6 separate regions of the Homo sapiens genome follow, and regions 2, 3, 4, 5 and 6 are each linked to region 1. The links are contacts of gene promoters, found by promoter capture Hi-C in blood cells and fetal thymus (Javierre and others, 2016). All regions are on one chromosome and are shown on one strand. The core of a region is centred on a gene start or on the middle of the fragment in contact, and the rest is flanking DNA. Distances in the headings are between cores, read along the strand shown. Region 1 holds the start of ANKRD49 (ankyrin repeat domain 49). Region 2 has its middle 36 kb from the start of JRKL. Region 3 overlaps SLC36A4 (solute carrier family 36 member 4). Region 4 overlaps CEP57 (centrosomal protein 57). Region 5 overlaps FAM76B (family with sequence similarity 76 member B). Region 6 overlaps LOC112268080 (ATP synthase subunit ATP5MJ, mitochondrial-like).

Region 1 (3,879 bases), core at 1,380-3,879:
CATCAAGATCTGAAAACACAAATACAAAAGTTATTAGTAAAACAATAATTCAGGCTTTATCAACTGCATAGATAAGTCTTGCAAACATATACAATTAAACCCTGTCTAAACTCTTGTTTTTCTCATGATATCCCTTACATACACTAAATACTGATGCTGACAGAAAACAACAAACTATGATCTAATAGTGGTCTAATGCTTCTTACTTTTGTTGTTTTCTTCTAAGTCAATTATATTATTATAACTATTATTTTTAATCTACTGGTTTAGGTATGATGGTGTTATGCTAACAGTGATGAATGCTTAAAGGTTTTGAAGTATAACTAATACAATGAAGACAGGTGCATTCAAGATTTTTATAAACTAGACACACAGATAATATAGAGCAGAAATAAAAACTTCTAATTCCTAAAAATACTATTTCGAAGAATCAGGGATTCTTGAAGATGGAATAGCCCCCAAAAGGACATCTGTTCCAATCTGTCATCGGTACATATATCTTTATCACAGCATCTACACTAATTATCCTATTTCTACTTTGATAATTTCAGGCCTAGGAAAATTCACTGCTTTAAAAAGTAGTCCTGTTTATTGATAGGCAACTATAGTTCTTAGTTGGGTCCTTGTTTTCAACTGAATTTTGGCTGTCATTCATTCCTTCATTCAACTAATATGAATAGAATGTCTGGTATGTGCCAACTTCTGGGTACTGGGATTCAATAATGAGCAAGATCCATGTCTTCACCTCAGGAAGCTTACTCTAGTGTAGGTGACTGGCAAAGACATCATGTGTCTGGCAAAGACAACATGATAAGTACTACTACAAGACCTTGTCTAGAAACCATGAGTATACAGGAGGTTCATAATTCCCCTAGTCCTAAGGGATTAAAGAAGGCTTCCTGAAGGAACTGATGTTTATTCTGCTAAGCTGCCATATTAATTTTTAAACCAATATCAGCTTAAAGGGTTACACAACATATAAACCTTAATCAATTAAAGAAAAGGAGAATAACCAATAGATAATTTACAAATACGAATTCCCAGCCTCTCAACTCTATTTGTTGAAATATAATCAGTCTTTCAAGGCTCTTCTCTGATGTTATCTCTTTCATTCTTTCTTGATCCTCTCATTTAGATCGCTTTCTGCTTTCTACTTTTTTTGGTGCTACATTTCACCTCTAACTTTGTTCTTGTTTTAGCCCCTTAAAAGATTATAAGCTGAAAGATAAGGACCACATTTAACTTATATTTATCTCCTACTTGTCTATAGAAGGCATTAAGAAGTATGTGTAGCATTACATTTAATTAAAGTCTTGTCACTTGATTTTGCCTGGAATGGATTCTGAGAAGTTCCAGAGTTAGGCATAACCCCAAGATACTGATTTCTTGATACCTAATCTCACAAGTTTAACAGTATACAATCTTAATGTGGTATTAAACTTTATTACTAGTGGCAATAGCACTAAACTCAAGTTTAAATGTATTACTCATGTCCAGTAACTTTTCTGGTCCTGTTACTTTATTGTAAAATGTAAGAATTTTACTAAAGTATTCCTAAGGCCAATCCGGCTTTTCAGTCACCCAATCAGAGACACCCTTGGAATCAGAGATATCCAATCAGAATTGCTCTGTGTTTTATTAATTCTCCTGGAGCTTCCACTTTTTCTTTGATTCTCAAACTAATTCCTGAACCTTGCAACACAAAAATGACCATACATCAATTCATTAAACACTTAACAGATGCTAATAAATAAAAGTTCACTTGTAATTATATCAAATATAGTAACCTTATACCACAGATCTTACCCTCTCCCCCAACATGCTTTTCCTTTCAATAAAAACTCCCTTTATATAAATTTTGAGTTTACAGATCCAGATACAAAAAATTATGTACAAAATTTTACTGGTATATTTAGTTTAAAAAGCCAAGCCTAGGCGCATCTACCCGACTTACAGTTAAGAAACAAAACTGATGACTTGATGATGATATTCCTGATATTCCATCAGGAATGTCAGGGTATGTTTCCTAACTTAAAGGGCATATCCTATTTTGAGAGAGATCCGAACTATGTCAACTCCTTACAAACAACTCAGTGATAGGCGGGGCTATAAACCTTACTGGTGAAGGAGGTTCAGATAGATTAAAACAACTTGCCCTAGATCAAGGACCCTTCAATGGAACTGAAAGGGCAGACGTTCTAATTCAAAAGTTCTACATTATTTTTCGCTGCACTATACATCTTACTGCTCTCAGCACAAAGCAGTGCAGATGTGCTGAACTCAAGGACCTAGGGGCGACACCTGTAGAGGGTCTGGCGACTGGGAGGGAGGGAGAGGGGATCCAGCTCCGGCACTCTGCCACCAGCCGGGAGCTCACAGGCCCGTGAGCTCCGCCTGCGGCCTTCCAAACAGCCAAGAGCGGAGAAGCGGCTTCGGTCCTACCTGGGGACCACGAAGCGGCCTGACCTGCAGGGCTCGGCCTGTGTCCACAGGCTACCCACCCCCACGGGCTCAGGAGTTCTTAGATGGCGCCGGTCCATCAAAAAGCGAGGTCCGGGACAGGGAATAACAACCCACCTGACAGAAGGGAAAATCGCCGCCTTGCATCTCACTTCCGGGTTCGTCTCCTAGCCTGCTCAGGATTGGCTCCTGCGTGAGGGCGGGGCCTCGCCGCTACTTTCCCCGCCCCCTCACTGCGTGCGGTAGCCAATGAGAGCCGAACTGGACTTGAAGCATCTACGTTATCCATGAAGTGTCGCGAGAGAAACGGACGCCGTTCTCTCCCGCGGAATTCAGGTTTACGGCCCTGCGGGTTCTCAGAGGCAAGTTCAGACCGTGTTGTTTTCTTTTCACGGATCCTGCCCTTTCTTCCCGAAAAGAAGACAGCCTTGGGTCGCGATTGTGGGGCTTCGAAGAGTCCAGCAGTGGGGTAATTTAGGAATCGCATTCGTCTCCTGTTTCTGCAGGTTCCCAGGCGGAAGCCCAGAGTTAACTGGAACCTCGGGAAGAGCGGGCCGAGTGGGCAGGGGAGGGGTCCTGGCGGGCTCAGCGTTCTGATTCCGAGGTTCCCTGCGGTGAGGGCGTGTTGAGGCTTGGAATCCCGACGGAATCTGGAGCTCCAGATGTGGTGGGGGTTGTCTCGCGGTGGCAGCCACTCTTCCCCAAACCTGGCTATTTTCAGTCATCCTGCTGGTGCTTAAAGGTGTTCCTCCGCAGACCACGTGTTTGTTTATTTACACTCGCTTTAAACGCGGGCCCGTTCCCTTTTCCAAACTAGCCAGGTCCTTTAAAAAAAATCGTGGGGTTTGAATAGGAAATACAGGATTGCCTCTGTTCTCCAGAGTAACCTATGCGTGCAACTTAAAAATATCTGCACATCTAGAGTTGTTTGTGTGTTGAACCAGAACCGTATGTGACCCTTTCTGCCCATTTATTTAGCATACATTAATTTCCCATAAGAGCACGGGAAAGGAAAATAGGAGTTTAATCATCTTGGTGAAACTAGGAAACAGGATGTACACTGGAGATATATTATTTTCTATGCTCAGTTCATTAAAAAAAAGTATAGTGGGTGCTTAGATGAAAATGAGACTTCTAAATTTGCCAGTCTAATTAAGACGTCTGTACCTTGTGCAGCGTAAATCATGTTGGTTAAATACGTGCAGGCTTTTAAAAAATGTGTTTTATGATGTAATTTTGTTTTTAGAATTTCTAGAATTTGGAATCGAGTGCATTTTCTGACATTTGAGTACAGTACCCAGGGGTTCTTGGAGAAGAACCTGGTCCCAGAGGAGCTTGACTGACCATAAAAATGAGTACTGCAGATGCACTGTAAGCACCTGACTTCTGGAATCCCTTGTTATTTGGGGTTTCTAAAGC
Region 2 (3,879 bases), core at 789-3,288, 1.9 Mb before region 1:
CGAGGTGGGCAGATCACGAGGTCAGGAGATCGAGACCATCCTGGCTAACACAGTGAAACCCCATCTCTACTAAAAATACAAAAAATTAGCCGGGCGTGGCGGCAGGCGCTTCCCAGCTACTCGGGAGGCTGAGGCAGGAGAATGACCTGAACCCAGGAGGTGGAGCTTGCAGTGAGTCCAGATCGCGCCACTGCACTCCAGCCTGGGCGACAGAGCGAGACTCAGTCTCAAAAATAATAATAATAAAATAAAATAAAAAATGAAACCTCTAGACAATATATTGTAGAACAGATAGATACAAATGCGGGTCATCTCTTTGTTTTTGCTGAGTCTGATAACATTAAGGTGAACACTGAACAGCCATCTGCTAAGTAATTAAACCTGCCGCTTATTAATGTAACTCTTGTATTAGTTCAGCATTGATGAACAATTTAATGGGTTGAGAAATTGCAGATTCAATTTCCTGTGTCACTACTCTCTCGTGTTCCCATAATCAAGTTAGATATGTTTTTACCCAAAACTATGTTAAATCAAAATAGTGTTAAAAAGAAGAGTCAATATTCTGATATACCACAAGATGGGGATGTTACTCCATCTTAAATGTCCCCATTGCCCTGCTCCCGCATCCCAACCCCTGTTTTGTTTCAAGATATTTAAAACTCTCCTGAAGACTAAATTTGGGTTTTCTTTCTCAAAAATTAAGATTTCAGATCATCTATGTTTCCAAATGAAGTTAGAATCAAACCATCTATAAAACAAAATGGAAACAGGGATATCCACTTTAAAATGTGTCAGGGATACACGCTTTAAAATGAGTGTATCTTTGTTTTTCTGCAGATTATATGCATTTGAATTTTGAACGGAGCTTCATGGTGGGCGTGTGTGTGTGTGTGCGTGTGTGTGTGTGTTTTATTCCGCAGGTGCTTGTTATCCTGTCTCTTCATCCACATGAAAGCCTCCTACATAGTAATTTTGTGAGTCCCTGTAATTGTCTCTCCCTTTTAGCTGTGCTAGTTCACATTTGCAACTCCAGTATGAAGTGAGTATGTGTGTTTGCGTTTCTTTGTCTTGTGAACATGTGACTGTGTCATCCTTTGTTTCTATTCTTCCTTATCTCTTCTGTTTTTCCATTTAAAAAAATCTTAATACAGCAAAGGTATCTGGTAGTCTATAATGATGCTAAAAAATTTCTTTCCTTTCACCCACTATGTCTCTCCATAATAGTCACTAAAGGTCTGATTTTTAAAATTAGTTGTTATTATCAAATTGAATTAGGAAATGAGAATATTTTATATGTTTTATATGCTCCCTGGTGTGTCTTGCATGTATGTGTGTATGTTTATTGATTTTTTTATTCCTCTGGGTGCTTTGTATTTAATATAAGAGGGGTTCCTTATTCAATTGTTTTACATACTCCCTGGACACTGACTTAAAAGAAAATCTCCTTTTGATCCATTACGTCAGTCAGAAATCGCTGTTTCCAGGGGAATTTAAATTGGTTTTCTCAGCAATTTATTATTTTATAAGAAGCTTGGCTACCCTACTAATCAAAATTTTATATTCTTATTTAACATGGGATTAAATTGCCTAATTCTACTATCAAATTCATAAAATATTTTCTTTTAAAAAAGTAACTATGTTCTTTCACTCCTATTCAACATTACACTGAAAATCCTAGCTGATAAAACAGGACAAGATAAAGAAATAAAAGGCATAAGATTGAGTAGAATAAATAAAACTGTCTTTGCCCATGGATGACATGAATGTTTAGGTAGAAAATTCCAAAGAATCAACACACAAAAAAACTACAGGAACTAATAAGTGATTATAGAAGGTTTCAGGATACAAGGTTAATATACAAAAGTCAATTACTTTCCTATACCAGCAATGAACAACTGAAATTTGAATCTAGAAACGCAACAACATTTACATTAACACTGAAGAGTGAGAGAAGAAATACTTAGGCATAAACCTAACAAAATATATACAAATCTGTAATAGCAAAACTACAAAACTCTGATGAAAGAAGATTTAAATAAATGGAGTTATTCCATGCTCATGGATAGGAAGACTCAATATTTTCAAGATATCAGTTCTTCCCAGCTTGATCTAAAGTGTCAAGAAAATCTCAACCAAAATCCCAGCAAGTTATTTTGAGAATTGATTATTAAGAGATTCTAAAGTTTACATGAAAAGGCAATAGAGCCAGATTAGTTAGTGCAATGCTGAAGTGGAAGAATGAAGTCAGAGAACTGACACCACATGACTTGGAGATTTACTATAAAGCTATAATGATCAGAACAATGTGGTGGTGGAAAAAGAATAAACAGATAGATCAATGAATAGAGAGCTCAGAAATAGACCCACACAAGTATACTCAACTGATCTTTGACAAAGGAACAAAGGCAATTCAATTGAGAAAGAAGAATATTTTCAACAAATGATGCTGGAACAATGGAACATCTACATGCAAAAAAAAAAAAAGAAGCTAGACACAGACTTTACACCCTTCATAAAAATTAACTCAAATGGTTTCATAAGCTTAATTGTAAAATTAAAGCAATACAACCTCTAGAAAAAAAAAAAAAACAACAACATTGTAGAAAATCTAAGTCACCCTGGGTTTGGTGATGACTTTTTAGATAAAATACCAAACGTATGACTCATGAAAGAAAAAAGTAGTAAGTTGGACTTCATTAAAATTAAAAGCTTCTGTCGGGTGTAGTGGCTCATGCCTGTAATCTCAGCACTTTGGGAAGCCAAGGCAGGCAGATCACTTGAGGTCAGGAGCTCAAGACCAGCCTGACCAATATGGTGAAACACCATCTGTACTAAAAATATAAAAATTAGCCAGGCATGGTGCCACATGCCTGTAGTCCCAGCTACTCAGGACTCTGAGACACAAGAATCACTTGAACCCAGGAGGTGGAGGCTGAAGTGATCAAAGATGGCACCACTGCACTCCAGCCTGGGTGACAGAGCTAGACTCTGTCTCAATAAATAAATAAATAAATAAGTACTTTTACTCTGCAAAAGACACTGTTAATAAAAGGAAACAAGAAGACACAGACTGGGAGAAAATATTTGCAAAACACATATCTAATAAAGGACTGTTATCCAAAATATAACAATAACTCTTAAAACCAGAGACTCAAGGGGGAGAAAGAAAGGGACGTAGGGAATGATGAAGAGATGGTGTGAAAAGGATTTTTAAGCAAGTGAAACCATTGTGTATGATACTCTAATGATAGATGCATGACATTATGTATTTGTCAAAATTCATAAAACTATACAATACAAAGAGTGAATCCTCATGTAAATCATGACCCTTAGTTAATAATAATGTAACAATATTGATTAATTATAACACATATGCCACACCGAGATGTTAATAATTAGGTAAATTGTGGGGAGGAATATGGAAGAGGGGGTATATGAGAACTCTCTGTATGATCTGTATAATTTTTCTATAAACCCAAAAGTGCTCTAAAAGTAAGGGCTATTAATTTTTAAAAAAGGAATGTCACATTTTATACTACCTTTTAATGGCTATTAGTCAAAGTAGCCTTATTAAATTAATTGAAACTCTATTAGAATACTGCTAGTTTCAAAGAAAATTCAGAATAAGGTCCATCCATCTAGATAGTTTAGTCATCCAAGGTAATTTACTACATTTTAAAAGTTTTTATCACAAGACATTTGCATTACCTACTGGATCCAAGATTCTATGATTGGATGGGAAAACTCTAGTAAACATCTCCCTAATATTAAAGATGCAGTTATGGCCATAAATTCCATAAGAATTATGTCTTATGTTAACATAGTCCATCCCACCTAGTCTTAGGCATATATCTTTTAAATGTTTATCAAGTAAATGAC
Region 3 (3,879 bases), core at 423-2,922, 1.3 Mb after region 1:
TATCCTTTTTTTGTGTGTGTTGGGAACATTTCAAATCCATTTCTCTAGTTATTTTGAAATACATAACAAATTATTGTTAACTACCGTTGCCGTATTGTGCTATAGAACATTAGATCTTATTCCTCCTACCTATCTGTATTTTTTGTACCCAGGAATAATTAAATTTTTGTTAAGGTTTTAAACGTGAAGGATGAGATGAATTTAAAGCAAATATATATATGAAAAGCTATTTTTCACAGTAAGTCATGTTTAATGTTTTCTAGAAAATGTAACATTGAAAATTAATGACTTTAAGAAGTAAGGAAAAGTGTAATAATAGGGATCACACTGTTGAACAAAGTTAAATAAATATGATAGCTGCTAAACAATGTGAGTTTGTTCAGAGTGACGGAGGTCCCAACTAATTTTTACTTCGGATTCTGAACATTGTAATACTATTTTTAAAAACTTAATTCTGTGAATTACAAAACTAGTATTTATAGGTAATTTTAACAATTCTAGATTTCCAGGTTTATTTTAAATGATATTAAAAATAAACTCTTCAATAATGCCATTACAAATAAACATCATTTAGAGTTCATATTGTTGTTAAAGATATGAAAAAACTTACCATTTTCCGTACTTTCCTTACTGCTGTGATCTCTTGGGCAGTGTGCTTTAAATAACAGATTGTTCAGTTTTTGAAATATTGGTAGTGATAACTATCTTTATTGAGGACAGATAGTATGCTTAGTACAGCACAGAACATACTGCACACTCCCTGACAGAAAGAAATCAGAAAGGTCAAATAACTGATAATTTGGATAAGCTAAATGAATAAAAGCAAATGAACTCTAGTCAGCAAGGGCAGTGGAGTACATTTAGGAATAAAAATATTAACATACTGATGGTTGAAACTGAAGTTCATACAACTAATAATGATGGTTGTTATGGATTAAATAGTCCCCCCACCCCTCAATTTATATGTTGTCATAGCCTTGCATACCTCAGGATGTGACCTTATTTAGAAATAGGGTAATTGTAGCTGTAATTAGTTAAGATGAGACCATGGCCAGGAGCAGTGGCTGATGCCTGTAATCCCAGCACTTTGGGAGGCTGAGGCACCTGAGGTTAGGAGTTCGAGACCAGCATGACCAACATGGTGAAACCCTGTCTCTACTAAAAATACAAAAATTAGCTGGGCGTGGTGGTGCACACCTGTTATCCCAGCTACTCTGGAGGCTGAGGCAGGAGAATTGCTTGAACTTGGCGGGGCAGAGATTGCAGTGAGCCAAGATCGCACCATTGTACTCCAGCCTGGTCAACAAGAGCAAAACTCTTGTCTAAAAAAAAAAAAAAGGTGAGGCTTTGCTGGAGTAGGGAGGGTCCCTAATCCAATATGACTGGTGTCCTTATAAAAAGGGGAAATTTAAACACAGACATGATTACAGAGAGAATGTCATGTGAACTTGAAGATGACTGTCCATAAACCAAGGAGAGAGGCCTGCCTGGAACAGAGCTTTCCCTCCCAGCCTTTAGAAGGAACCAACCCTCCCAGCACTTTTTCAGACTAATAGCCTCTAGAACTTTGAGGCAATAAATTCTCTTGTAGTACTTGATTATGAGAGCCCTAGGAAACCAATGTGATAGGTTTACAAGAGTACCAGTGTATTTTGTATAGAGTATAACAGAAAAGGATATAGGCTTTATCCAAACAGAAGGTGAACATAATAAATTTCTAGAGTAAATGTGAGATAGTAGATATCCCAGTAGACCTAATACTGGGGAAACAATTTTTACTGTGTATAGTTCTAGACCGTGCCACCTTTGAAACTGGAAAACAAGAAACAAGGAAATCCTACAAAACAATGTATGGAGAATGTCCTAAAGATTAAAGGGTTAGAAAAACCAGCCAAAAGAAAAGTTGGGAACTTTGAATTATAGAAAATCCTCATCAGTTTTGACTTCAGGAATTTGGAACTGATAATTCTGTGAATTTTACTCTACACATATTAGTTACGTTATTAGAAGAAGAATATGTAAATAATTTTATAGACTGTTTTCAAGCATCTTCCAGTATCTTAAGGCATCACTTTACTCTTATTAAGAATGAATATGCTGAATTCCAGTTGGCACTGGGCTAATGGAGCCTGCTAAAATCCTGATCTCTCAACACATCCTCCCCTAAAACCTGTGAATTCAACTTGAAGCACAAGTAAACCATTCATGAAATTACTCTTTTAGCATTGCGAGGAGATCAAGGATACCATGAACCTCAAATTATCTATAAGTATAAAAACAGAAAATTTTTGTTGCTGCTACAAGCATGGAGAGTGGGGGAGGGGAGTCTTTAGTATTTCGTTGGAAAAGAAGAGCGGGGAGCAGGAAACTGGATCAAGCACCATGAAAATCTCCTTCAGAAAGAGAAAGTCTAATTTAAACTGTTAAACGTCTAAACAGAGGTCAGGTCTAGAAGTTAGTAATTCATAGCACTGAGTACAGGAATGTGAATTTGAGCAGGACTGAAGGGGGAAGCCTTGACAAAACATTGCTTCTGGAGGTGAGAGATAAATAGAGCAGTGGAGATGCCCCTCAGATGGCAAGGGAGGGAAAGAACAAAGTAATGGGGAAAATTGGTGGTCCTGCAGAAATGAAAGAGAACTAGAAGACATGCCAGCTGCTTTTGCTCACCCCTAACAGCTCAACATTGTCTTTGAAATAAACTGAACTTCACTATAGTGACAGAGGGAACACTCTTGAACTAGGATTCCTGTGTATGAAATACTTAGAAATAGGAAAAATCACAAATAAGAAATAAATTACAAGATGTAAGGGAGAATGTATTGAAATGAAAATTTAATGTGTCACTTAAGGCAGATATGAATGAGAATGAGGTAAAGACAGACATCAGAAGGGTCAGAGATATAAAGTGGTTGAATGGAAGACAGGCAAAGAAGACCCAACATGCATGTAATTGAAATATCTAAAGAAGAAGTATTTGAACCAAATACATATTTAAAGCTATTATCCAAGAAAACTTTATAGTAGAAATAAGAAAAAACCTAAATCAACATATCAAAAGGGGCCCACTGTAGCCCTGGGAAAACTGACTTAGCATGGTCAACCCCAAGACATGTAGTAAAGTTACTAGACTTTAAAGACAAAGAAAATATCTTCAGGAACTCTAGGAAAAAGAACAAGTTACTTAATGGCTGAGAAAATTAGTCTGCCATCAGATTTCTCAAAAGTAGCATATAAAAGCAAGGCAAAAGTGGAACAGCATTTTCAAGAAACTCGAGGAATGAAAGTGTGAGCCAAGGATTTTATATCTAGTTGTTCCTCAAGTATCCAGGCTATAAAGAAAAACAGTGTGAAACGTGTAAAAACTCAGGGAACACTGTGCCCATGAGACCCTCCTGAGGAATCAGTTAGAGCAGTGGTCCTCAAAGTGTGGTCCCCAGACCAGCAACATCAGCAGCACTGGGGAACTTGTTAGAAATGCATATTTTCAGGCCCACCCCAGACTTACTGAGTGGGAAACTTTGGGATGGAGTCCATTATTGTGTGTTTTAGCAAGCCCTGCAGGCCATTCTGATGCATACCTTTTAAGAAGATGTACTTCTTCCAGCCAAGGGAAGATTGAGGAAACTTTGGCAGAGAACTGATAGTGGATATTGATATTGATTGTAGATACATGTCTAAGAAATGAGTAGAGACATAATTTGAAGGACAGTATGAAAAACATCATATGTATTGTCAAAGTAGAAAGAATACAACTAAACATGAGAAACTAAGGAACAGAGACAGGAAAAACTAGAATTAAATTATTAATTGTTGTATAGGTAATAGGTAGAAGTCAGAGAGTACCACTTAAAACAGTCAAACAAGATAGTAAAAAAT
Region 4 (3,879 bases), core at 828-3,327, 1.3 Mb before region 1:
ACTGAATTTGGCTAAGAATCTTAATGAGCTTGGAAGCAGATCTTCCCCAGAGCCTCTAGTAAAGAACAGAGCCCCAAGCAAAGCCTTGATTTCAGCCTTGTAAGGCTCTAAACAGAGGACCCAGATAAGCCTACACAGATTTCCGACCTACAGAAAACTGAGATAACAAATATTTAAAGCTAAGTTCATGGCAATTTGTTAAGGCGACAAGAAAACTAATACAGATGGCAGGTTCCAGGAATAAATGTATTTCAAAGTAGCCAGAGCAAAGGATGGGAAAGGAAAAAACAGAAGACAAGTTAGGGATGAAGCTGGTGAGGCATATAGGGTCTAGGTTATGAAAAATTAAGAATTTATTATGTAAGCTATGAAGAGATGCTAAAGCTTTAATTTTGTGGGAGAGATGATGGATAATGACAAATGACAGAAATGTTGTTAACTGGGGATGAGGAGGAGAAAACAGGCAGGGAGATTAATGAGGAATGTACTATGAACATCTGGGCTACAGATGATGAAAGCCTGAACCAAAGCAATGAGAACACAAAAAGGCAGAAAAAACAGTATGCTTTTGGTATATTTCAGAAGCAAAAAAAGGTCTTCATTCCGGACTAATAGTGGGGATTACAGAGCAGTCACTGATGACTCAAAGTGTTTTAGCATCAGTAATTTGGTGGATGATGATGTTCAACAATCAATATAAGGAATACAAGAAAAGCATAATATTTTCTGGGGGCTGAAACTGGAAGCAAAGGGGAAATATATTTTCCTCTAATGGCAAAATAATGGAGGACAAAGTTAAGAATTTTAAAGCAGCAAGAAAACACAAATAACATTTATTTCGTTAGGCTCGATTACCTCTGCTGTTGCTTTCTGGATAGGCAAGTGTAGGCTTACTTGGGGAGCGTCGTAGATCACTATTAAGGAAAGGCTTATCCGAAGGATATACTACATATGGAGATGAAGAATGCCGAACCATGCTTCCATTAGACCTTGATGGCTCAGCAAAGCTGTTCTAAAAAATAAAGACACAAATTACCTTTCAAAAGTGTGAACCACAAATAGCAGATTTAAATCACAAATATTTATGACTGAGATTGACTGTCCATACAGACAACAGAAAAAATCCACTGACTAGAAACAATACAATTCAATCATTAAAGAAATACAACTTTTAAAGTGTTTCATATTAGTCTGAATATAGCCATATGCCAGACACAAGAAGAAAATAATGTTCATACAACTTGAATACAAATGCTGTGCAGAAATACTTAAATGATACAATGAATGTAAATACCGCAGTTAAAAATATATACTGTGAAATATACGTTCAGAAAAATAAAAACATTATTTTTACAGGACCAGAAACTGCTACAAATGACTGAATTACTCTATTCCCCATCCACAAACTACTACTTGAATATTTATAGTATTCAAAACTCCAGAAAGAAAATAAGGCACTGTCCTTGCCTCAAATACTTTACATTTAATTAACAAAAAAGAAAATAATTAGAAAACATTAAGGCCCATCAAACACTCAAACATAAAACTTTATTTCCACAGTACACCATTCTGTCATGAATGAGATTCTGTTAAATTTAGGATTCCACATAATAATTTCAACCCAGGAGATGCTAACTGTGGAGTTTTATTTGTTGTAGGCGACTTCCTACTGACAGATGGTCCTAGACTGGGGGAAGTAACTAAGAAGCTGAGGGCTAAGGTGGAAGATATGACTACCAGCTATTCAAAATGTTCATCCACTTTCCTTCCTCAAACGGCCACAGCAAACTATGTTTTTCAATTCTTACCTTTGAAGATTTACATTTACCAGAATAATCCGTGTTCATAAAAGTACAAGAGCACAATGAATATTTAAAACAGTAAACAATCTCCTGAAACAAAGGCTATCGAAATACCTGCACTGTATTTAAATCTTATTTAAAATTAAAGATTTTACTTCCATGTTAAAAATCATGCAAATTTCCAGGTGATTTAAGAAAGCAAATATAAAACATTTTCTATTTATATAAATATAAAACACACTATGGCTATGACAATCAAAAGTGGGGACAAAGAGCTTAGGAGGGTAGGGCCAAGTCTTAAAAGTGGTACTCAAATAAATAAGTGCTAAGTCTACTATAGTATGTTCATATATAACAAAGACTAGTATTTGTCATTTTCCAAACTTAATGGCAAATTGGCATCTGGTTTTACAGGTAACTGGAAAATAGGATGAGTTTTCAATTCTTTATAATATTGTCAAAGGTCTTGCAAAGCATCCTCAATTACTGCATAGCTTAATTTTAAATGTCACAGAGAACCTCAAGTTTTCATTGGTTATTTACAACCCACCAGAATCCTATCATTTAATATTCAAAAATATTAAGTGACTTGCCGACCACCCTCTGCCCAGTCAGGGGAATCCCATTAACTATGTGATTAACTAACAAACTAGTTCCCCAAATGGAACTACCTCTGTTCTACATTTTGTATGTTAGTGGGCTTGCCCTTTACTATTTTATATCACTCCTCATGACATATACATTTTTATTATCTGTATGCCCTGTGGTATAATAAAAAATATATTTAGTCTTTTGTCCTTGGTTTCAGATACAGATTCAAAAACTCCTAGAATTTCTTAAGTGATAGGGTATCCTTGTTAGGCTGATGAAGGGACTCAAGGTAGGGCACCTAGGTAGCTTCAGGTTTGAAGGCATCTTCTGGAAGCTGGTTGCCAGAAAAACCAACCACTAGATTATAAAGAGCTACAGATTTCAGCCAGGCATGGTGGCTCATGCCTGTAATCCCAGCACTTTGGGAGGCCGAGCTGGGCGGATCACTTGAGGTCAGGAGTTCGAGACCAGCCTGGCCAACATGGTGAAACTCTGTCTCTAACTAAAATACAAAGAAATTAGTCAAGTGTGGGGGTGTGCCCTGTAATCCCAACTACTCAGGAAGCCAAGGCAGGAGAATCACTTGAACCCAGGAGGTGGAGGTTGTGGTGAGCCAAGATTGGGCCACTGCACTACAGCCTAGGCAAGAGAGTGAGACTCCGTCTGTGTGTGTGTGTGTTGGGAGGGGGGTGGGGTGGGGGGGAAGAGTCACAAATTTCAGCCCTAGGCCCTGACCTTAGGGGAGGTAAGGGACAGATTGAGCCCAGTGACCAGCGGACAATAATTTACTCAATTATGTATTTATGTAATGAAAGCTCAATGAAAACTCTTGAATAATGAGGTTTGGGGAGCTTCTAGATTGTTGAACATACTGATATGCTGGGAAGGTGCTGCACCAGAGGATACAGAAGCCCTTTCACACCTTGCCCTATGTCTCCTCCATTTGGCTGTTTCTGAGTTGTGTCCTTTATAAAACTGAAATTGCTTAAGAACAGTCTTTCCTGAGTACTGTGAGCCGTTCTTGGAAAGCTGCAGGAATCCCATAATTTGTAGTCAGCTGAGCAGAAATGCAGATGCTCTGCGAACTCTGACTGACTTGGGGGCAGGCAGTCTTGTGAAACGGAGCCCCTTAATGTATGGGGGTCTGAGCAACATCTGGGCAGTGTCAGAATTAAAATAATTGTAGTACACCCAGTTGGTGTAGAATTTTTGCTGGAGAAATTAAGTTCTAATAAAGGAGTTTTATTATGTTCAATAAATCTGTTGAATATTAACTATACATTTCCTCCGCAAAACAGGAAACTGCACATTACTTATAAAAGATTATCCTTTTCAACAAAATCACTACAACCCTTTAAGAGATCACCAAAAGCTTTTGGGCTTCTTTATATTTAACAAATAGCACAAATATCATAGGAAGGCTGCGTAGAAAGGAGCCCAATTCTAACTCCCAATCCACTAATCTCTCCATGACCCTAAGCATTCA
Region 5 (3,879 bases), core at 965-3,464, 1.3 Mb before region 1:
ATAATCCTGGACATAAATTAAAAAATGAAAACAGTGTAGCTTTTGGCTGAAAAGACCATTCCTTTTTATATTACCCAGTGTGAAATTTCTTTCTTTAAGCATTGAAAGATTATTTTACGCATAAGCTAGTTTAAATGTTTATATTGTTTTTACTATTATTGAAGTACATTTTTAAATGAGGCATTTTCCCAGTTATTAGCCGTTAAGCTTTTTTCGTTGGCATACCAGTTGCCAAACTCTATTTCCAGTCGAGCCATGTTTAGGAAAAAAAGAAAACTGAGAAGTTTTACTGATGGTCAGGTATTAACATTAAAATTATACTATTGTGAAGCAGATAGACTTCATCATTTCACCAAACAAACTTTAGATAGCTTGTACAATTCAGGAAACTGCAGTTAACATCTTCTACTTTTGTAATGAAATGTGAGTTTATTGTGAAAGTTATTTAAAATGGTGTGTGTGTGTATGTGTGCAAATATATACATATATTTTTTCTTTAATCTCTCAGTTAACTGAACTAAAGGCAGACTTTCAGTACCAAGAGTCAAATTTGAGAACAAAAATGAACAGTATGGAAAAAGCCCACAAAGAAACTGTGGAACAACTTCAGGTAACTACCATCATTTACGTAAAATGATAGGCAAGAAGGGCTAAACTTGAGTAATAGCATTCATTGACTTAGATTGTTATTGGTAGCCCTATTTTGTGCATAGTTGGTGCATTTCAGTTTTGATTTTGACTTTATAATCATTTTTAATCTTGATCTCATTAGAAGTTATTGTTTGAAATTACTTGAAAGGGGGATTCAGTACTTTAATCTTGAAAACTTTTGCCTAAACTTCAAATGGAGTTTTTGGAGGAGGGTATCATTGGAGTGTGTTCAATTAATTATTGGGCTTATAGCAAAAAATTAAAAATCAGATTAATGAAACTAAGGTGAAAAGCAGGTCTTCAGTAGCAATCATTCCTCACATTAATATTTCCTTCCAGATAATGGGAAAGGAGATGGGTGTATAAAACCAATTCTTAAGGACCTGGAGTGGCAAAAATGTGTGCAAAGCAAGAGAGTTTACTTAACCTGTGTACAGTGGTTCGCAAAGTGCCAAATAGGGTTCTGCTAAATGCTAACAGGTAGTGATCCACCTGAACCTCAGAGTACTGCAAAGTAGCAGTTTAAGTATACAGAACAACTGAATGGTAAAGTCAAGAGTCACCACAGTAATAATCTGATGTCTGGCATGCAGAGATGGTGAACATCCAACATGGATACAGAATGCTACCATATTAAGCTGCTTCTCTTCTAGGTTTCATACATTTAGAAATCAGACCACACTAAATTAATTACATGTTCTCTTTGATTTATACAGTCTCACATTTGTAAAATTAGTCTTTAGTAACAAAATTTTTAAGGTGAAAGAAGTTTTAAATGTTAATGGAAGATGGCAGCACACAGACGTCAGACTTGGGAGAGTACAGCTTCAGAAGGAAGGAGTTAATACTGTCCTGTTTCATTTTGTTTTTTTTTTTTCACATTGTAACACCAAAGGATATTTGCTATTTCTTTCTTTTGGTTTTGTATTATTCATACTTCTTTGCAAGTAGCTTAAATTAGTAGGATTTAGGAACTTGCTCAAATTCGAGGTACAGATTATCTGGTCTTAATCCCTATCATACTATTACAAAGACTGTTGAAAAAGGAACCTCATGTAGAACCTGAGACATAGTAGGCATTCAAATAATTTGTTGACTAGGTGGTGATTTATGGAAATGCCCATCAGCCCTCTGTTCTGAGAGATTGCCCGTATCATATATCAGATTCTTATATATTAGTCAATGTTTTTATCCACCAGCAAGTATTATTTTTAATTTTATGTTATTCCTGTTTTTCTTACTCAGTTATTAATGCTGAATGATTACCTGGAACAAAATCTTCCACCTGGTGATCTTTGATTTAATGTAATGTAACCAAAGCTCTGAAGTAAATCCAGAATGAGATAACAGAATAACTGCAATAGGTGCTCAGATATGTTTTAACTTAGTGCTCCCCACTGTTCAAAAGAGCAGTTTGTGTGTTGGTTTTTCTTTTTTAAAATCATAGTTGCAAATACATGGGGTCATCTTTGACTTAGCCTGATAGATATCTTAGGCCTACCTCCTCTTGGTAATTGAAGTTTCATGTAGTATAAAAGTAACCAATATTTAAATAGGACATTTTGACATGATTTTACATATGCTGTCTTACTTGTTGCAAAAACTGGGTTATGTGATATGCCCATTTTACAGAGGAAACTGTGATCACACAGTAAGCGGTGACGTAGAAATCTCTGTCTTCTCACTCCAGTTTATCTATACTTTTCCCTGTCCTACACTAGTTCCCACCACTTCAGGTTCCTCAGGTTTTCTATTTCATCCTTCCTATCAGGCCACTTCCCTGATTTTTTTGTGTTATGGCTAGAGACAATCTGTCATAGCTGAGTGCCATCTTTTTACCTCACTTCCTTTAGCAACCAAGTGATACTAGTAGGATTCTTTACTGAGGTGAGGAAACCGGTAATTTTTTTTTTATCTTTATGTAATAAGGAATTGAATCCTGTGACACAAGATGGATCTTGCTCTAATAGCTAGTAAAATATTTTTAACTGCCAAACCTACGACAAAACACTGAACATCACATGAAAAAATTGTTCAAAATGTCACCCCAAAATACCCCAAATATTGAAAATACTAAGAATATCAAGTTAAAACTCTTATTCACTTAATTAGGTAAGTGGTTAAAAGGAAAAGGGACCTAACATTTGAGTGCCTTCTGTGTACCAGGAACTGTGTTAGGCTAAGTGTTTTATATATTTGATAAGTTCCTTCAACTCATTTTGAGTTCGGATGGTGGAGTTTGTGTTACAAATGAGAAAATATGCTCCAGGTTATGTAGCTGGTAAGTAAGCCAGGATTTAAAGCAGGATCTATGTAATTCTTAATCCTGATATTCTTTCCTTTGCACCAACATGTCTAAACTTTAAAACTTAGCTTTCTTAAGAGTCTGTAAAGAATTTCATTGATTTTTTTTTTTTTTTTTGGCTGGCTGCAAAATGAAGTAATTTTAGGATAAAACAATTTAAATGTACATATATTGAAATATGGCATAAAATTCATTTTTAAAGTATTCAAATTAGAATAATTTGGACTTGTACTTAACAATTGTGTTATTTATTTACCATAAAGACTTTTGTCTTATGTAATTTATTAAGAAATATCTTTATTAGTGATATAAATATATTAAAAGCAAATTGGAAATTAGCTACCAAAGCATTAAATGGAAAAATTGCTTTGAAGACCTAATGTTCAAATTATTGTATTTTGTACTTAAAATATGAAAATTATAAACACTTTATTTCTTGATAATTGAGATAAGAACTTGGAGATTCACATTTTAACTATTTTGTATCAGTATAAACATTTTTAGATAAATATAACTTAACAGATCTAGTGGAGATCTTTTTGAGTCAAATTTGCAGACTCAAAATTTGAAATTGATACTGAATTTGAAATTGAAGTTTTTCGTTACCACCTTAGTTATTAATAACCACTGAATAGGAAAGTTCTATTGATCATGCATCTGAACATAAAAAATTATTTGATTTGCACATATAAGATAGTACTGAGAATATTTGCATTTTAGAGGTCATGGGTGTTAATTAGCAAGAGTGATTGGAGAAGAAGGGTGGGGGAATGGAAGAATAAAGTTTGAAAAAGGTTATTTCATGAAACCACTTTAAGATGGCATACAGAGAAGGCAGAGTGTTATCTGCCCGTAAAAAGCTAAAATTAGAATAAAATATGAAGTACTGAGATTAAAAAAGTCTGTCTATATAATAAAAATTC
Region 6 (3,879 bases), core at 500-2,999, 1.3 Mb after region 1:
ATGAAACATCAGTCAGCTTGTAAATTTAAGTAAGCTGTGTTAGACTGTACACTTGTTTAAGTATCGCTTACTTCATGGCATGAATAAATGGATCTGTGAAATTCACTGAAAAAAAAAAGAGAGATCAAGATCGGGAGTACGGTGGAAACAGAGGTCATTGCTGGGTAAACTCAAAAGATTTAGTACACAGGACAGAGACATGGCTGAGGCACTGGGATTTTATTCTTACTAGATGCTGGACAGTTATTGTGGCTTCAATGAGATAATGCACATAGATACAGAGTTCTTACATGGCACATAGTTAAAGCTTACTATCACTTATTTTTAGTTTTTGCACCTTTGAAAGCTAATCAACTAATTTCCTCTAGTATAGAAGCCGGTGAACAAAAGTCAAAAAATGAATTTCTTTACTGGGAATAAAAGTTGTGCAAGTTGTGTTTGTTCCACCAACAATTTCCTTTGATCCAAATGGCCAGTATAGAAAGATCAGCATTCTTCTACAGTGGCTAGAGAACAAACAATGATGCCAAGGGCACATATACCAGGAAGAGACCACTAATGACCTCTCACAGGCCTCCCAAGGTAGCATCATGACCTGAAATTACCCATGCAGGCCAGGAACTGTAATTTTATTCATCCATAGGAAGAAACACTTATCTCAGGTGTTAGTTCTGCACAATAATCAAACTTACAAGAGTGAATACAAACCAGTGTATCTGTTATTTGTAGTTTTAAATTTTTATTGTTTTTATTTTTCAATAATTTAATACAATCAATCAATAAAAGAGGGCCATGTATGGGCCACTGGTGATAGTGTGTTACTAAACACAGATATTGGATAGGCAATTAGCAGTGTCTGCTCCAACCATGGCATCAGTTTATTAATTTTCAATAATAAATTACTATAAGAATTCTGGAGTCCTTATGATCAGTGCCAAGTGCCATGAAAAGTCCAATCAAAATCAGAAACCATTAATTTATTCCTTCAGAAGAAATTACTGCATAGGTTTATCTGACAAACACAGTCTTCCTTAAGAGATTAGCTTAACCATAATCAAGAGGAAGGTTGTCCTGAATGCAGAATACAAGCTAAGAAAGTTGACTGTTTAATGGCTTCAGGGTAAGAAAGTTTCTGGCCCACAGAACTGGAAATACTGGCCAGGTCACAGCCTCTCTAGGACAGTGCTAAGATGGAAATTACTAACATTGGCTTCAGTGACTTTTCCTGCTTTTTCTGTGCCCAAGTCACAAAAATCACTTTTTAATGTATGTATTATTTGCTTAGTCAAGTTAATATATCTACCTTGGTTATAGCAAACTTTTGCAAGCCCACAGGCCAGTTTTTCATCTCTAAAGAGTTTTTGTGTATCTCTGCTTTGATTTTGTAGCCTGTTGATTTCACTGTTTCTCCTTGTGCAAGCATCTCAAGTTCTTCTGACCACTTCACTGACACCCCTATATACAGAGAGCAACTATCCAATCTCCCTGCTTTTTGACATTCCTCTTATCTTGTATATAATACATAGGTAATTCCATGAAGTTCCTCAGGATCCCTTCTATTCAGTATATTGTTGACTGAAGTCTTTGGTCATCACCTAGGTCTCTGTGCCATTAATTACCTCCTTTATTTCTTGTATGTTAATTTATTACTCCACTGGATCCAGCTTCAGTCTACAAATATAGTCAAGTCTCCACTGCCCCCAAAACCCTGCCCTCAAGTCTGCAACTCTCAGGCTACTTTCCTTTCATGGTCGAGGGACTGGAAACAGCACTGTCATGCATCATTGCCCTCTTGCATGTATGAACACACCTTGCAAACTGGTTCCTACAAGTTCCACACTCCAGTGGAACTTGCTTCTTGGAGTAGAGCTAACCTTCAGTGACCTCTTCTCCCTGGGGTCTAGTGCTAGCCCCCGAAAGGAGTGAATGCCTTGCTTTGCTGACATTTTCCCTGGCCATAGTTAAAATAGGGACACACACTCAAGCTAGGTTACTTCCCTCTCGTAGGATATGGAGCATGGACTGGAGAGGTGCAGAATTTTCTGGAGCAGAGTTGTATTAATGGCTGCACCACCTGGGAGAGGGGTCATAGATTCCTAGGAGGCCCCCAGAGCTGCCCTGGTTCCTACCCTTCCCGAACCTTGGTTGTTCATCTCCTCCGCTGACTCTCTGTGAGCTCTCCTAGAATCCTCCTTTAGGCACTGCCGTTAAATTCCTTTTTTTCTTTCTGTCTAAGCTAGTGACAGTCAGCTTCTACCCTTTACAACCTAATTAACCGGTTAATTCTTAACCAGTTAATTCTCTTACCCTTTTTAACAATTCAGAAGCATTGAACACTGAAGAATCCCCTTCCCTGCTGAAATTGTTTTTCTGTGTCTTTGCTGCCTGTGCATTCTTGTGGCTCCTTGTCCTGCAGCATTTTCTCAGGCCCCACTGTCACTCCTCTTCTTTCCCTCACCCTTGAATGAAAGACTTCCTAAAATGTTTTAAAATTTTTTTTGTTTTGCTTCCTAAAATGTTTTAAAAATTTTTTTGTTTTGCTTTGAGACAGTCTCACTCTGTCACCCAGGCTGGAGTGCAGTGGCATGATCTTGGCTCACTGCAGGCTCCACCTCCCGGGTTCAAGTGGTTCTCCTGTCTCAACCTCCTGAGTAGCTGGGATTACAGGTGTATGCCACCATGCCCAGCTAATTTTTATATTTTTTAGTAGAGACAGGGTTTCACCATGTTGGCCAGGCTGGCCTTGAACTCCTGATCTCAGGTGATCCGCCTGCCTCGGCTTCCCAAAGTGCTAGAATCACAGGCATGAGCCATCGCCCGGCCCTTCCTAAAATATTATTTGTGAGAATCTTTTTTACATTCTCACTTATTCAAATCAACAAAACAAAATTTGAATGAGCCAGACACTCCACCTCAATTCAGAATATTTTGAAGACATAGTCTAGAGAACATGACTATATATATGGTCATATTCTATTGGCATAGTCAAGCAACAAGACATCCAAGTTCTAGATGTACATTTCTGGTTATCTAAATGTATATTTCTGATTCAACTCACCTAAGATCACCTATTACCATCTCAAATTTAATATGCTTAAAACTAGACTCATTATTTTTGCCCTCAAATATGATCCTTTTTCTATCTTTCTAATCTCAATCAATAACAGTACCATCCTCCCAGCATAAGCTTAAATAGCAGAGTCATCTCTTATTCCCTCTTCACATCTGGTCAATGCACAGGCCCTGCTGATTCTGACCCTGACACACATTCACCTCAGCAGAACACGCCCACAGGCACCCCCCGTCAAGTCTCCTTACATTTCCCTTCCTGCTGCAGGGGTTTACTAACTCAGTGCCCAACTATCTGGCTGTGCCCTACCCAGTCATCCTCTACATGGCTGCTTAAGTCTTTTAAAACTCAGATTTAATCATGACAGTTCCCAGAAGAGAAGCCTTTCAATGGTTCTCCAAGGGATGTTCATAAAAATTGCTGAGGAGTTCTGAAAAAGTGAAGATTCTTGGGCTGCAAATAAGACTTCCTCAGTCAGTTTCCAGAAATAAGGCATGGGCATTTTGAGAAACTCACCCCCCCACCCCCACCCAGGGATTTTGATATAGACCTACAATTAAGTGTCATTGCTTTAATGGAACCTCAATGCCTACTGAACAGATCTCAAATTTCTCACTGTGATATTTAGGGCACCAACTTCTGCTTCAAGCCTTGTCTCCTTTAATTCCTTACATATTCCAAAGTCTGACAAACAGTGATCACAGTAGTTACTATTTCCTGAATGCCTCCTGACATCATGCCTTTCATTAGTCTGCTCTTGCCACTTGGAATATCCTTTCTTCTCCATTTCTATTTCTCTCAATTACACC

Evidence for each region. The method cuts DNA at HindIII sites, captures the fragments that hold promoters and counts their contacts. A CHiCAGO score of 5 or more calls a contact.
Region 2: a fragment that was not itself captured here is called in contact with the fragment with the promoter of ANKRD49 in region 1 in 8 of 17 cell types (naive CD4 T cells, fetal thymus, naive B cells and 5 more); the score reaches 9.8 in naive CD4 T cells.
Region 3: a contact is called between a fragment that was not itself captured here and the fragment with the promoter of ANKRD49 in region 1, in 2 of 17 cell types (total B cells and naive B cells). The highest score is 8.0, in total B cells.
Region 4: a fragment that was not itself captured here is called in contact with the fragment with the promoter of ANKRD49 in region 1 in 4 of 17 cell types (naive CD8 T cells, neutrophils, total CD8 T cells and 1 more); the score reaches 9.4 in naive CD8 T cells.
Region 5: a fragment that was not itself captured here is called in contact with the fragment with the promoter of ANKRD49 in region 1 in 1 of 17 cell types (fetal thymus); the score reaches 5.4 in fetal thymus.
Region 6: a contact is called between a fragment that was not itself captured here and the fragment with the promoter of ANKRD49 in region 1, in 4 of 17 cell types (total B cells, total CD4 T cells, non-activated CD4 T cells and 1 more). The highest score is 7.6, in total B cells.

What each region holds. Positions count from the first base shown.
Region 1 is chr11:94,492,734-94,496,612 of GRCh38, reverse strand. It overlaps ANKRD49 (ankyrin repeat domain 49), which reads right to left and starts at 2,629. Exons shown (of 3, transcript NM_017704.3): 1 at 2,578-2,629; 2 at 1-9. MRE11 (MRE11 double strand break repair nuclease) reads left to right here and starts at 2,769. Exons shown (of 20, transcript NM_005591.4): 1 at 2,769-2,822; 2 at 3,707-3,831. The coding sequence starts at 3,812. RefSeq lists an enhancer at 2,330-2,419. The HindIII fragment of the contact is 5,313 bases long and covers 757-3,879 here.
Region 2 is chr11:96,423,682-96,427,560 of GRCh38, reverse strand. No RefSeq gene overlaps it. Among named protein-coding and RNA genes, the nearest start is that of JRKL, 36 kb to the right of the region's middle. The HindIII fragment of the contact is 1,011 bases long and covers 1,533-2,543 here.
Region 3 is chr11:93,186,525-93,190,403 of GRCh38, reverse strand. All of the region lies in intron 1 of SLC36A4 (solute carrier family 36 member 4), which reads left to right. Among named protein-coding and RNA genes, the nearest start is that of SLC36A4, 9.5 kb to the left of the region's middle. The HindIII fragment of the contact is 5,393 bases long and covers 1-3,879 here.
Region 4 is chr11:95,796,365-95,800,243 of GRCh38, reverse strand. CEP57 (centrosomal protein 57) reads right to left here. Exons shown (of 11, transcript NM_014679.5): 2 at 856-1,012. Among named protein-coding and RNA genes, the nearest start is that of CEP57, 7.8 kb to the right of the region's middle. The HindIII fragment of the contact is 3,381 bases long and covers 387-3,767 here.
Region 5 is chr11:95,772,653-95,776,531 of GRCh38, reverse strand. FAM76B (family with sequence similarity 76 member B) reads left to right here. Exons shown (of 10, transcript NM_144664.5): 9 at 509-610. Among named protein-coding and RNA genes, the nearest start is that of FAM76B, 15 kb to the left of the region's middle. The HindIII fragment of the contact is 4,010 bases long and covers 210-3,879 here.
Region 6 is chr11:93,217,549-93,221,427 of GRCh38, reverse strand. It overlaps LOC112268080 (ATP synthase subunit ATP5MJ, mitochondrial-like), which reads left to right. Exons shown (of 1, transcript XM_024448785.2): 1 at 1-120. Among named protein-coding and RNA genes, the nearest start is that of SLC36A4, 21 kb to the right of the region's middle. The HindIII fragment of the contact is 2,880 bases long and covers 310-3,189 here.